Regions from separate parts of the Homo sapiens genome. Here all the other regions are linked to region 1. The links are contacts of gene promoters, found by promoter capture Hi-C in human tissues and cell types (Jung and others, 2019). All regions are on one chromosome and are shown on one strand. Each heading gives the region's core, a stretch centred on a gene start or on the middle of the fragment in contact. The rest is flanking DNA. Distances are from core to core; before and after follow the strand shown.

Region 1 (4,090 bases), core at 933-3,432:
TAAAACTTGTTAGCTGGTGGATACACATTGTTAATTTGAATACTCTTCATTATAAAAATAATCTGCTAAGTTTTCATCCCTGGAAATTGTTATGAAAGCGAAAACAAGCACGTAAGGGAATATTTGAACATGCATATACCTAATGACCAGAGTCATGGCTACACTTTAAAAGGCTCCTTTCTAGCTCTGTTACTAGAAGTCTCAATTGAGATCTATAGCAATCCTTGGAGCTTCTGCAGCCCATGTCAGGTGATGATGACACAATAGTTAAGTTCTATCAACAATGATGAATCAGGATTTGAGTGAGTTTCTCTATATAGCTCTCTTAGTGATGAAATACCTCTATGCAGCAAAATAGTTAGTGGTGAGGTGCTATGCAATTTTAGAAATAAGCAACATACTCTGTTTTAAATATGATACAGAAACTGAGCTGAGTCCCACTTAGGAGGTGGGCTTCATCATCACAACTCCGTGGGCTGGAGGCTAAAGCTCTGAAGGGAGGAAAAACAGAGGCAGGCATATTTTGTGCATTTGTTAAATGGGCCTCAAATGCCTCCATTCATTTATTTGTTGAAGACAGGGTCATCTCATTTAATTCAGCAGGAAAGCAACTGTACCAGAAAGAGAAAAGCTGTCTCAATCTTCTCTGTATTTCAAAGGTATTTCACATATGCTCCTCATGAAGGAGACCGCACAGGGAATCAGACCCACGTGCCTGCTTTGCCTCTCTTGCGCAGGATTAAGTAAGGGAAGCCCCTGATTCACAAGTGCATCCTGGCTGTTTAAGGTTATGCATATTGTGTCTGAATGTACAACTATGATAAATATATATTCTGGAGCAATGTTAAATTCAGCTTAGGACGATGTACTGCTTAGAGCTTTGAGGGAAAACATAAGAATGATAAAATGAGCCTAAATTATTTTGGAAAAAACACTGCTCCCCCAACCCATTTGACGATCTATTATTTCCTCCTGGGCTGCTCCCTCCCCAAGAGATTTGGTGCAGGAGGCAAGGAAGGACAATAAGAAAGGTTAGGAAGAAACACCTTGGGATGCTGACACCATCTGCCTTATCCTTCTAACTCAAGGACAAGCAGCGTTGGGTTGAATACAAGGTCCTTTCTTCCAAAACTGGGCACAGGCAGAAATATACATATAGATGCAAAACCACTATGATCCTGTGATAGGAGCTGGAATCACTTCCCTTTAGACTCAATTTCCTTTCCTTTTCGTTAGGTAGGGGGTCAGCCTCTCACCTTGCAGTATTGGGTGGAGATGGCTTAAGACCAAACTTCTCATCTTAACTCTTACTTCCAAGATTTATTTTGTATTTTAAAAAAAATGAGCCTGCCTCATTACCTCCACACCTGGGCATTTTGTTTATCAGGACTGAGCACAGTATTATTTTCTGAGGGCTGGAGCAACAGTGCAGTCCTTTCTAATCAAAGGTTTTTTAATCAGCTGGCTTTGAAATCACACAGTTCTTCCGGGGTCCCTGGAGCACACCACCTCCCTGTGATTTCTACTCAAGTTTTCCCTGGCCCCCCCCAGCACCCGTTCCATACCTATTTAATCTTTAAGCTGCCTCTAATCCTTTTGCAAGGAAGCAGGATGAAATGCTCAAACCACAGTTATACACAATGTTGATTCTCAGGTTCACACATTTGAGGAATTGTTTGAACAAGAAATGCTCTCTGTACTATAATCCAGGGTGCAGGCACGGTGCCCGGGCGACCCTCAGTCTCCCTCCGACACCCCGCATCCCAACTCCCGCCGCCTTTGCGCCTCAAAGCTGGCAAACATCCCCAAGCCAGAGCTGGAGTACCTGGAGTGGGTGGGGGTAAGAAGGGAAGCCAAGGTCGTCCCGGAAGGTGTGCGCCCCTCACCTTGTGGACGGTGCGTGCAGCCGCGCCGCACTGGGCAAACCGGCACGTCCAGCTGGCTCCAGAAGTCTCACTCGGAACCCGCTCCTTTTTCTCCTGAGCTGGATCAGAGCACTGCTTCTCTCAACATTCGATTCTGGAGTACGTTGAGCCCAGGGCGTTCTCCCCGCCAGCGTCCTTGCCCGCGCCAGTGCCCGCCGGGGTGCGGCGAGACAGAACCTGGGAGCGCGGCGCGCCGGGCAGCCCGAGGCACCGCTGGTGGCAGGCGCTGCGCTTCGCCGAGTCTGGGCGCCTGGACTGGAAGAGGAGGCGAGAGGGAGAGAGCGGGGAAGAGGAGGAGGAGGAGCAGGAGCAGGAGCATGGGCAGGGGCAGTCTGCTAAATCATCTACGCAGGTCGCAGCCTCCCGGGACACCGTGAACGGAGAGGGGGGTGGTGGGTGTGGGATGAAAAGATGAGCCCGGGTGTGAGGCAGGTGGTATTGTGAACTGGAGGTCGCAGCTCCGAGGTACTCCAGGTCTTGCTTAGGTTATAAAAGAGAAATTCTGGAGCTGATGGCGCCTTAGGGCTCCCGGTTGCAGACACTAGAGGGCAGGGCTGTCCATGTTATAAACCGGGCCAGCGGGGTTGGAGGTGTGGGCAAGGGACTCACCTCCTGAGCCCCTTGCCGGCCACAGCCCTGGCGGAGAAGGGGAAAATAGATACAACAAGGGGGCAGACCCTACTCCCTTCTTCTGTAGCGAGCCTGGGTTGAGGAGGGAGAGGAACGGCGGGAGCAGTTGACGGGTTTGCACGCTTTCTCTACGCGGTTCCAATGGCAAACAGACCCTCTGGAGGTGCATTTCTTAGCCCTCCTCCAGGGGAGATTACAGTCAACATCCACAGGATGCCTCAAGGAGAGAGATTACAAGGAAGGGGTGAGGGAGAAGTGGACGAAAATTGGGGTGGGTCAAAGTGGAAGGGGGGAAGAGAGGTGGGGAAAGCAGTGAAGAAAAGGAGACGGAGAGTGGAGTGGTTGGGGCTGAAAGACCTGCTGAAGCAGCCTTGCCATTTTTTTTTTTTTTGAGGGAAGTCTACCTGGGCGCCATCTCAGGTTGTCAGAGGGCTTTGTGCTCTTCTGAGGGTGCCAGGGGCTGTTCTTTTTGTTGTTCTGCTGCCGCAAGGTCAGAAAAGTTAAGCTGGGAGGGACTTTGCAGAATCCTGGCATTGCTAAAAGAAGCTTCCTTACGGCTGGTTGGTTATTCTCTGTGGAGAACTTGGGTGACTCAACATTGAAGCCTAACATGGATTGAGCCCCTGCCATTGTAAAAAAGAAAATCAGATTGTTCAAACTAGCCATAAAATGAACTAGACAATCTTATGGAGACAGTATGATCTGTAGACAGCCTGATACACAAACCTTAGAGTTGAAAGGACCTTGGAAACCATGTAGGCAACTTGGGTAGCTGCCCCAAACACCTGCCTCACACTTTTCTTTCTGGTTTGTAGCCTTATGGCTGATTTGAAAAACACTTTAAGTTATTTATTTATTTTTTGAAGTTTGACAATTCTAAACCAAATGAAACCCTTCTTCAGTTCAAAAAGCGAGCCTGTGTGCCCTTCTCCTGCCTTCTAGAGCGCCTCTCAAGGCCAGCAGGGGTTGACTGATGGATTATCAGGGGAATTTCACTGAACAAGAGAAAGGAAGGTTGGTAAACTATAGTCTTAAATTGTGATTTGCTTCTGTTAATCCCATTAAACTGAGAATAGGCTTAAGTAGACTGAAGTCTAACAGGAGGATGAGGTGGAAATATGTTTTCCTACTAAAGATGACACATCTTGAAGTTTGTTTGATGATAAAGGTGTTATGTAAAAATAAGCAGAACAAGAATCATTCCTCATTTTAAAAAAGAATCTTATAGGACTGAAGATATTTTAGATATCCCAAGAGAGTAAGTAAGGACATTGTTCTACTCTTGCAAGTTTGGAGTTCCTCCAAAATATAAAGGAAATATGAGTTTGTTAAATTGCTTTATTTAAAATTGATTTACCTATTTTTTGGTTATTACAACATAAGGAACTATGGAAACAAATATTATACACTTGGAAACTTTCCTGAACATACCTCAGAATACCCGCTTTTTGGCAGATGTTCAGCTTTATGAAGTGTCTGATTATTTTCAAGCTATTAATTAACTTCTGGCATATATTCTACCAGTTTTAATAAAA
Region 2 (4,090 bases), core at 574-3,073, 420 kb after region 1:
AGTAGGATATATATATATGTGTGTGTGTGTGTGTATATATATATGTCTGTGTATATACAAATACATATTCCAAGAAATTGGCTAATGCAATAGCAGGGGCTAATCAAAGTCTGTTGGGCAAGCAAGGAGAAAGGGAAAATCATGAGCAAACCAGAATCCCAGGGAACAAGAGAGAGCTTCTTGTCCATAGGTTTCAGTCAGGAAGAAAGATGAGAGAGGGCTTTGGAGGGAGAAAAGTTGCAAGTCCAGCTGCCATTTGAAATCTCCGAGTTCAGGGAAGGCCTAGGCCCTGTTTTTAAAAAATCCCAACTGATTAAGTTATGCCTACCCAAGATAATCTCTTTTTTGATTAATTTAAAACCAAATGACTCAGGACTATGATCACATCTACAGAGTCCTTTCACAGCAGAGCCTAGATTAGTGTTTGGTTGACTAATAGACAGTAGGGGTGTTTATGCCTCAAACTGTCAGTGCCTCACTTCAGTCCTCCAACTCTCCTGGGAGATGATCCCTTGTAGCCCACCCCAACAGGAAAGCGACTAGAAATGTAATTCTAGGGATTGTAATTCATCCTAGTCAAGCTGACCCACCAAAATGCTATCACAATAAACTATTCCTCATAGGTGACATATTTCACAATTAAAAAAATTAAAACTAAATTCAGTTATTTCCTTCCAGATAACAAAATAAAATGACTAGGTAAACTCCTGCAAAGAAGTCCTTGGAAATATCCATCAAAGCTGGCTTTTCTTGCTAGCACATTTCTTGCTGGGGTAATTCAAAATAACAGTGGTAGTATAATTTTGGAAAAGTGTTCTTAAGGAGGCTTGAATGGATACCTTAAATTACTTTAATCCTAAAAAGAAACATTAAATATGAAATGAGAAAATCTATTACATTTTAACATGTTTGAAAACAGGATTGTGCATTATGACATAATTATTTTCTTTTTTTTTTCTTCTTGGGACACAGTTTCACTTTGTTGCCCAGGCTTGAGTGCAGTGGCATGATCTTGGCTCACTGCAACCTCTGCCTCCCAGGTTCAAGCGATTCTTGTGTCTCTGCCTCCCAAATAGCTGAGATTACAGGTGTCTGCCACCACGCCTGTCTAAATGTGTTTTGTACTATTAGGAGAGACAAGGTTTCACCATGTTGGCTAGGCTAGTCTCAAACTCCTGACCTCAAGTGATCCACCTGCCTCGGCCTCCCAAAATGCTGGGATTATGGGCCTGAGCCACCGTGCCCAGCCTGACATAATTATTTTACTAAAGTGATTTGAGAAACATAAGCTGTCTTCTACCACAAACTATTGCTACCCTTCAATGCCACTTAAGCTTTTAGAAACCCTCCAAAAAATGTCATCATTGTTAGTGTATTATTATTTTAATTTGGGGGGTTAAGCTTGTTATAGCACCCAACAACAGCATATTCATTAGTTGAATAGAGACAATCCACAAATTAACAGTAACCAACTCATGAGTAAAGGAGTTGTTTTCAAAGAGGTGATAAATGATTATAAGTGAAGCCAAAATTTTCCATATCACTCCAAGAGTGGAAATTTATGGGAAGAGAAACATTAGCTCAGGAAAAGGATAAATTTATTGACAAAGTTACCTGGCAACATAATGCGCATCCTCCATGATTCTCCACCCTTTGAAGTGTTCAAGTCTAGGATGGCAGGCTTGCTGGGGGAATTGTGTCACGATTCAAACCTTGGGCTAGACACTCAATCCAATGGATATACCACATATTGTCACATTTTTTCATTCCTTATTCCTGGGCTAATCACCTACCACTACCATTTAATTTTTCAAATAACCAAATTGTTTTAAGGGAACGACACTTCTGGGAGAGTTCTGCCCAAGAACCTTCTTGACCCAGAATTTTCTGCATCACTCCTTTTCTTTCTGCTTAAACTGATTTTACCTATGCTGGACCCTCCCATTTTCTTCTTTTTTAGTTCTTAATTCATTAAATTCCACTTTCTCAGCCATATAAATCTTAATGCTTTCTTTAGCTTTTTGCCTTCCTCTTCCAACTTATTTTAAAGGAAGATCTTTCTCCCTCTCCTCATGTTGCCTGTGAGTAAAGCAAAAAATTTATTTGTGACTGTTACAACACCAAAATCAAGGACAAGGAAAGCCCTGAGTTTTGAAGTGAAATTGGACACAATAATGAATTCAAGCTAGTCTTTAAAAAATTAAAACAGTCACAAATGTGCAATCATAATACTGAAATTATGGTATTGGAAAAAAGTCTAATACAGATTTATTTCATTCAAAAAGCATTTGCTGAATCCTTACCATGTCTGGTTGCTAGGTGCTAGGGTTAGAAAATGGAACGTCAGTGTTTTTCAAAGGATGGTGTGTGCAGTTCTCAGAGTGAAAATCCCCTAGAGATTTTGAACTTGGATAGGCCAGGAACTGTGTCTTGCTCTGTTTGTATTACTGTTTATCACTAAAAAAAATTTTTGAAGAAAAATGATTCCCCCTTTTCAATTAATCAAAAATGCAGATGATTATTAAGTGCACACATTTGACTATATCATAAAGTTCTTTATGAACAAATCTGTGAATATTATTTTGCATTTTTCAATTCTATTTTATAGAAAAGATAAAATATTTGAAAAGATAACTGAAATGGAAATTAGGCAGCACCACTGTCCTGCTGCTTTGGGGAGTAGCATGAACCAGGCAGACATGGATTCAAATCCAAGCTCCTTACATTTATACACTATGCGGCCTTGCTTTTCCAAATCAGTTTGTTACCCAAAAGGGAGGAAAAATAATAATAATGAAGGTGTTATAAATAATAAGTATATAAGAGAATATACATTACTAACATTCAGGATTTATAGTTTTCCTATCTCTCCTGCTCTCTGAGGATAAAAAGACAAAAATACAAAATGAAGAATCATGGAAGGAAAGCAGTCAGGCTCTATGAAAAAAAAAAAAATCCCAGGATGTTGCACATGGAGGGAGAAATATAACCTGGAAGGGGATGCATTATGAGGAGGGGATGGTCCAGAGTGGTGTGTAAACAAATACCATGCTGGAAAGACACATGTGGATGAGAAAGAAGTCTCTCTTGGGATAATACATTAAGAGTATATTGGGAGCTTGGGGGTACACTTTATTATTTTAAGCCAGTATGTTGGTTTAAATTTGTTATGCAGCAATAAATAACTGATAACATAACCAAAACACCTCTTATTGAAAGTTAGAATCATTAGATTTATTGACCTACAATATTCTGTTCCATAGAGCACAGAGGATTTTAATAAGCAGAGATTTTAATAAGTAGAGCAGAGAGGATTTTAATAAGAATTTCTGTGTGCTCTTTAAATGTTTGAGAGAGCAGTGAGTGAGGAGTCGTCTTTGGACTGTGTCTCTTTAAAATCAGGACGATACAGGAAAGGAACAATGATTGTTAAGGAGATTGCTATTCTGAATAATTTCAAAGCTAAGGTGAGACTCTACCTGTACTTGACATAAAAATAATTGTCCTAAATACGAGTCAACATGCTTTTTCACTGTGAATGTCAAAACACTGAACGTTCATATAAAAGGGATAATGAGGACCTAACACAAGCAGCACTGAGACAAAAGCAAGATATTGGAAACATGTTTTATGACATTAAATTGAAGAAGTCTAAGAAAAAAAGTCCTTGCCAAATTACTACTTGGGAATTTCCATTTTAATGTTACCTTTAATAGACTCCCAATTGCTCATGAATTAGGAGTCCTGTCTGCATGGGACCAGAGAGTTACTGGTGAAAACGGAGACTAGATCCATTCTGTATTTTGTCTCTGCTTGGGTACTTGATCCTGGCCCCTAACTGATGTTTTGGGAGTAGCAGTGCTCAGGTATGGAAACCAACTATCTGACCAATTTCTGCCAGAAACTGGAGACAGACTTAAGCATGTTTTGCTAATGGACTAAAGGGGACTTTGAGTAACGGTTAGGACATGCCTCAGCCACTGCAGGAATGACCAGATTGAAAGGTGGAGATGGCAACCACTTAAGGCCCTTCAGAGATTCAGCTCATTTGCATCCCTGCCCCAGAGTCTGCTATGGAGAAGGAACTGGA
Region 3 (4,090 bases), core at 1,069-3,568, 330 kb after region 1:
TTTAAAAATTATAGGCTTTGTGTGCCCTTCATTTATCCCATCTCCAGAGATATTTTGTTTTATCCTGTTCTCAGACTTCTTAACATTTCTCTCCATCAAAGAAATTTTTTCCCCTTTACTTCTAGCTGCCCTGCTGTACATTAAGAATAAAAGTATTACTGGAAAGGTCCTCAGGGTGCACCCTATCTTGAACAAATGTGGCTGAGTATGACGTTTAGCATTTATGTGATCCTTAGCTCCTATCTCTTGTCTGAGATCAGACAAGGATACCTCCTATTTTAGATATCTCAGCTGTCTATGTCAGAGACTAAAGAAAATCTTAGGGGGAGATTAACCACTGAATAACTACTTAAATGTATCTTTGGGGACTAGTACTTTGGAGTTTGCTTTGGAATAGAAACGTAGTCTCTTCAATACTACAGGTGTGTGTGTGTGTGTGTGTGTTTGTGTGTATTTGTGTGTGAATTGGGAGTGGGAGATGGGCTTGCCCAGAGGGAGGGCAAGGTTGGAGGAAGTAACAACAGCTGACCATCCACCTTTACGGTATAAGTGCAGATCCTCAGCAACTCATTTGCTGGTTTTCATCAGTGTTTCCACTGCTGCTTGGCCTCCTACCACGATTTTGCATTCAGATTTCTAGCAGTTTATATAACAAGGATATGTACTTTTAACTTCCAAAGCCCTTTGGCTTACTGTGCTGGGCAGGACACAAAACCTCACTATGTCTTATAGTAACTCGGCTTTTTAATGCCCCTTTGAAGAAAAGAACCATGTACTTGCCTGAAAATTAACCCAGTCACCCTCACTGTGTTGGAATAACCCAGGGAGCAAGAACTGAGCCAAAATTGTCCGGTAGGAGCACTCCGTATTAGGTGATGCTTAATCAAACTACTACTTAACTCTTGGCTGCTTAAAGGAGACTGAAGATGAGAATATGATAGCAATAGAACTGCAAACACACGCACACAATAAAGAGGGAGGTATCAGAACAAATAGTGCTAAAATGTAATTACTGTTCCATTAAAAAAAAACCCTATCTCTCTTAAGCTTTTCCAAGTTTGTTTCTGTCCCTTGTAACATAAAAAACAAAATTAGCACGTAAATGCTATCTCATTTTTAAAATATGCACGACTACATAGATTTTTAAAATTTACAGAGCAGTTTTTTTTTTTTTTTTTTTTTTTTTGAGACCGAATCCTCGCTCTGTCGCCGAGGCTGGAGTGCAGTGGCGCGATCTCGGCTCACTGTAAGCTCCGCCTCCCGGTTTCACACCATTCTCCTGCCTCAGCCTCCGGAGTAGCTGGGACTACAGGGACACGCCACTGCGCCCTGCTCATTTTTTGTATTTTTAGTAGAGATGGGGTTTCACCGTGTTAGCCAGGATGGTCTCGATCTCCTAACCTCGTGATCCGCCCGCCTCGGCCTCCCAAAGTGCTGGGATTACAGGCGTGAGCCACCGCGCCCGGCCAGCAGTTTCAAATACTACATCTAATTTTATTCTCAAAAACCCCACAGGGCTGTGTATTTTTATCATGATCTCCAATTTTTAGATCCATGTTATTCAAATGTGAGGTGTGTCTTGCAGATGATCTTGGGATGACTTTAGGTGGCGACCTTACATGACATTCAATGAGGAACTATGTGACAAAGGAGATATCTTATTTACAATTCTCTTTCAGGACTTTGTGTAAGGAGAAAATTTCAGTTTGGTGCTGATATTTCTATAAAACCTTTAGAACACATCTCCATTTTCATAAAAACATAACAGACTTTAAGCCTCAGAACTTTTGTCAGGCAATAATATCCAGACAGAGTTTATTACATTGTTTTTAAGTATTATTATAAACTTTATTGTCACCCTATTTTGGGGAACTACTATGTTATTAATTTTCCATTTATGGCAATATGTAAAGTTTCCTTTTTACATAGATTTATTTAAATAAAAAGTGAGCCAATTAAAGAAAAAATATTTTTAAATGGTATAAGTGGCACAAGGAAATGACAAAAATTGTGCAGGATACAAAATAACAAATGCTGTTTTAAGCAAAGAAAGTCAGTCTCAGAAAAGACAAGTGACTTAGGAAGCTCACATAGCAAAAATGGTAAGCCAAGCCTGAAGCGACTAGGATTCAGATGGGTTAAAGGCCTTTGTGATAGGTCATTGGTGATGGGCTTCAGACAAGACTGACTCCTAGCCCTGAGCTATTTAGGCTTTGAGGTGGCTTTTCTTATGGTTTATTTAAAAGTCTTAATGTCTTCCTACCCCATCCCCCAGCCCCATTACATGAGACTCTAGGCACCAAAATAGGCAATTAAATTTTCTTCGGATTTTAAAAACAATAATGAGAACAATAATATATTTAATTTTTACTATGGGCCCAGGTACTATTTTATATATTTCATATGTACTATATTTAGTAATTCATTTACTTATTAAACTTAAATACTTATCATTATACTTAATTTACTAATTCATTTAATCTTCACACTAAATTCCACAAGAGAGGTATCTCCTATGATTTTTCAAGTACAAATCCCTCAAACCTCACCTGATTGGTTGTACCTCTAGAATAATTTATATGACACCAGGTTAAAAGACTGAAGACTCACTTTATGTCCCATTCCTAATACAGATTTCAAAGCTTATATCTTTTTGGTTCCATTTTGTTTTGTTCTGTTTTGTTTTTTTTATGTTAAGTTCTGGGATACATGTGCAGAATGTGCAGGTTTGTTACACAGGTATACATGTGCCATGGTGGTTTGCTGCACCCATCAACCCATCATCTACATTCGGTATTTCTCCTAATACTATCCCTCCCCTAGCCCCCCACTCCACCCCCCACAGGCCCCAGTGTGTGATGTTCCCCTCCCTGTGTCCATGTGTTCTCATTGTTCAACTCCCACTTATGAGTGAGAACATGCAGTGCTTGGTTTTCTGTTCCTGTTTGCTGCGACTGATGGCTTCCAGATTCTTCCATGTCCCTTTATTAGATTATTTTTAAGTGGTCTGAGAGAAGAGAGACAGACCCTCTCATATTGTTTTATATTGTTCTACACTCAGAAAAAGAAAGAGAAGCAAAACTAAAGGCAGGTAGCCTGGTGCCTACGAACAGACCCAAAACAAAGGAACCAGACCTGAAACCAGGCCTGGGCCTGCCTGACCTAAGTCTGTTAAAATTTGACCCCTGACCTAGCAACTGATGTTATCTATAGATTCCAGACGTTGTATGGAAAGACATTGTGAAACTTCCCGGTCTGTCCTGTTTCACTCTGACCACCGGTGCATGCAGCCCCTGTCACGTACCCCCTGGCTTGCTCAATCAATTACGACCCTTTCATGTGAAACCCTTAGTGTTGTGAGCCCTTAAAAGGCACAGAAATTGTGCACCCGACAAGCTTGGATTTTAAGAGGCTAGTCTGCTGATGCTTCCAGCTGATTAAAGCCATTCCCTTCACTATCTCCATGTCTGAGGGGTTTTGTATGCGGCTTGTCCTGCTACAGTCCATAACATTTAACACTAATTGAAAAAGTATTTATTAGCACAACAAATATGCAGCAGACATTGTGATGGCCACTCAGGACAACATTGGTGAGCAAAAGAGTGAGGACTGCCTTCCAGAACTCATAGTTTGATGGGAGAAATAGACCTCTTTAAACAATCACACACTACATATGACCATACAATTAATGGTATAACAGAAACATACATAATTAGCATAAAAGAAACATACGTGGCCTGTAAGAATGTGACTCAATTTAAATTGGGCCAAGAGGATCAGAAAAGCCTTTGAGAAATTGACATATTGGCTGAGATATGGTGGATGAGTAAGAACTGAGTAGGTGCAGGTGGGAGTTCAGGTAGAAGGAGGAGTATTAAGGCAGAGGAAAGAGCACTTAAAAAGACCTTGGGCAAGAAAGAACATGGTGACTGACAGATTGAAAGACGGCCAAGATGGCTAGTGCTTGAAAGATGGCCAGGATGACCAGCAGGTTGGGGGCAAACTTCAGTGGATGGAGGAAATTGATAGACTATGATTAGGAGGGGAGAGAAGTACACAGGGACAAGGTGAGGCAAAGCCTTGTATGTGT

Evidence for each region. Contacts are between HindIII fragments. The study calls those that stand out against the background at their distance.
Region 2: a contact is called between a fragment that was not itself captured here and the fragment with the promoter of HTR1E in region 1, in 4 of the 25 tissues and cell types used here (adrenal gland, bladder, ovary and 1 more).
Region 3: a contact is called between a fragment that was not itself captured here and the fragment with the promoter of HTR1E in region 1, in 4 of the 25 tissues and cell types used here (adrenal gland, bladder, dorsolateral prefrontal cortex and 1 more).

The regions. Positions count from the first base shown.
Region 1 is chr6:86,935,620-86,939,709 of GRCh38, reverse strand. It overlaps HTR1E (5-hydroxytryptamine receptor 1E), which reads right to left and starts at 2,182. Exons shown (of 2, transcript NM_000865.3): 1 at 1,887-2,182. RefSeq lists enhancers at 1,288-1,842, 1,843-2,398. The HindIII fragment of the contact is 9,684 bases long and covers 1-4,090 here.
Region 2 is chr6:86,516,283-86,520,372 of GRCh38, reverse strand. No RefSeq gene overlaps it. Among named protein-coding and RNA genes, the nearest start is that of HTR1E, 420 kb to the left of the region's middle. The HindIII fragment of the contact is 5,056 bases long and covers 1-4,090 here.
Region 3 is chr6:86,609,129-86,613,218 of GRCh38, reverse strand. No RefSeq gene overlaps it. Among named protein-coding and RNA genes, the nearest start is that of HTR1E, 330 kb to the left of the region's middle. The HindIII fragment of the contact is 4,331 bases long and covers 153-4,090 here.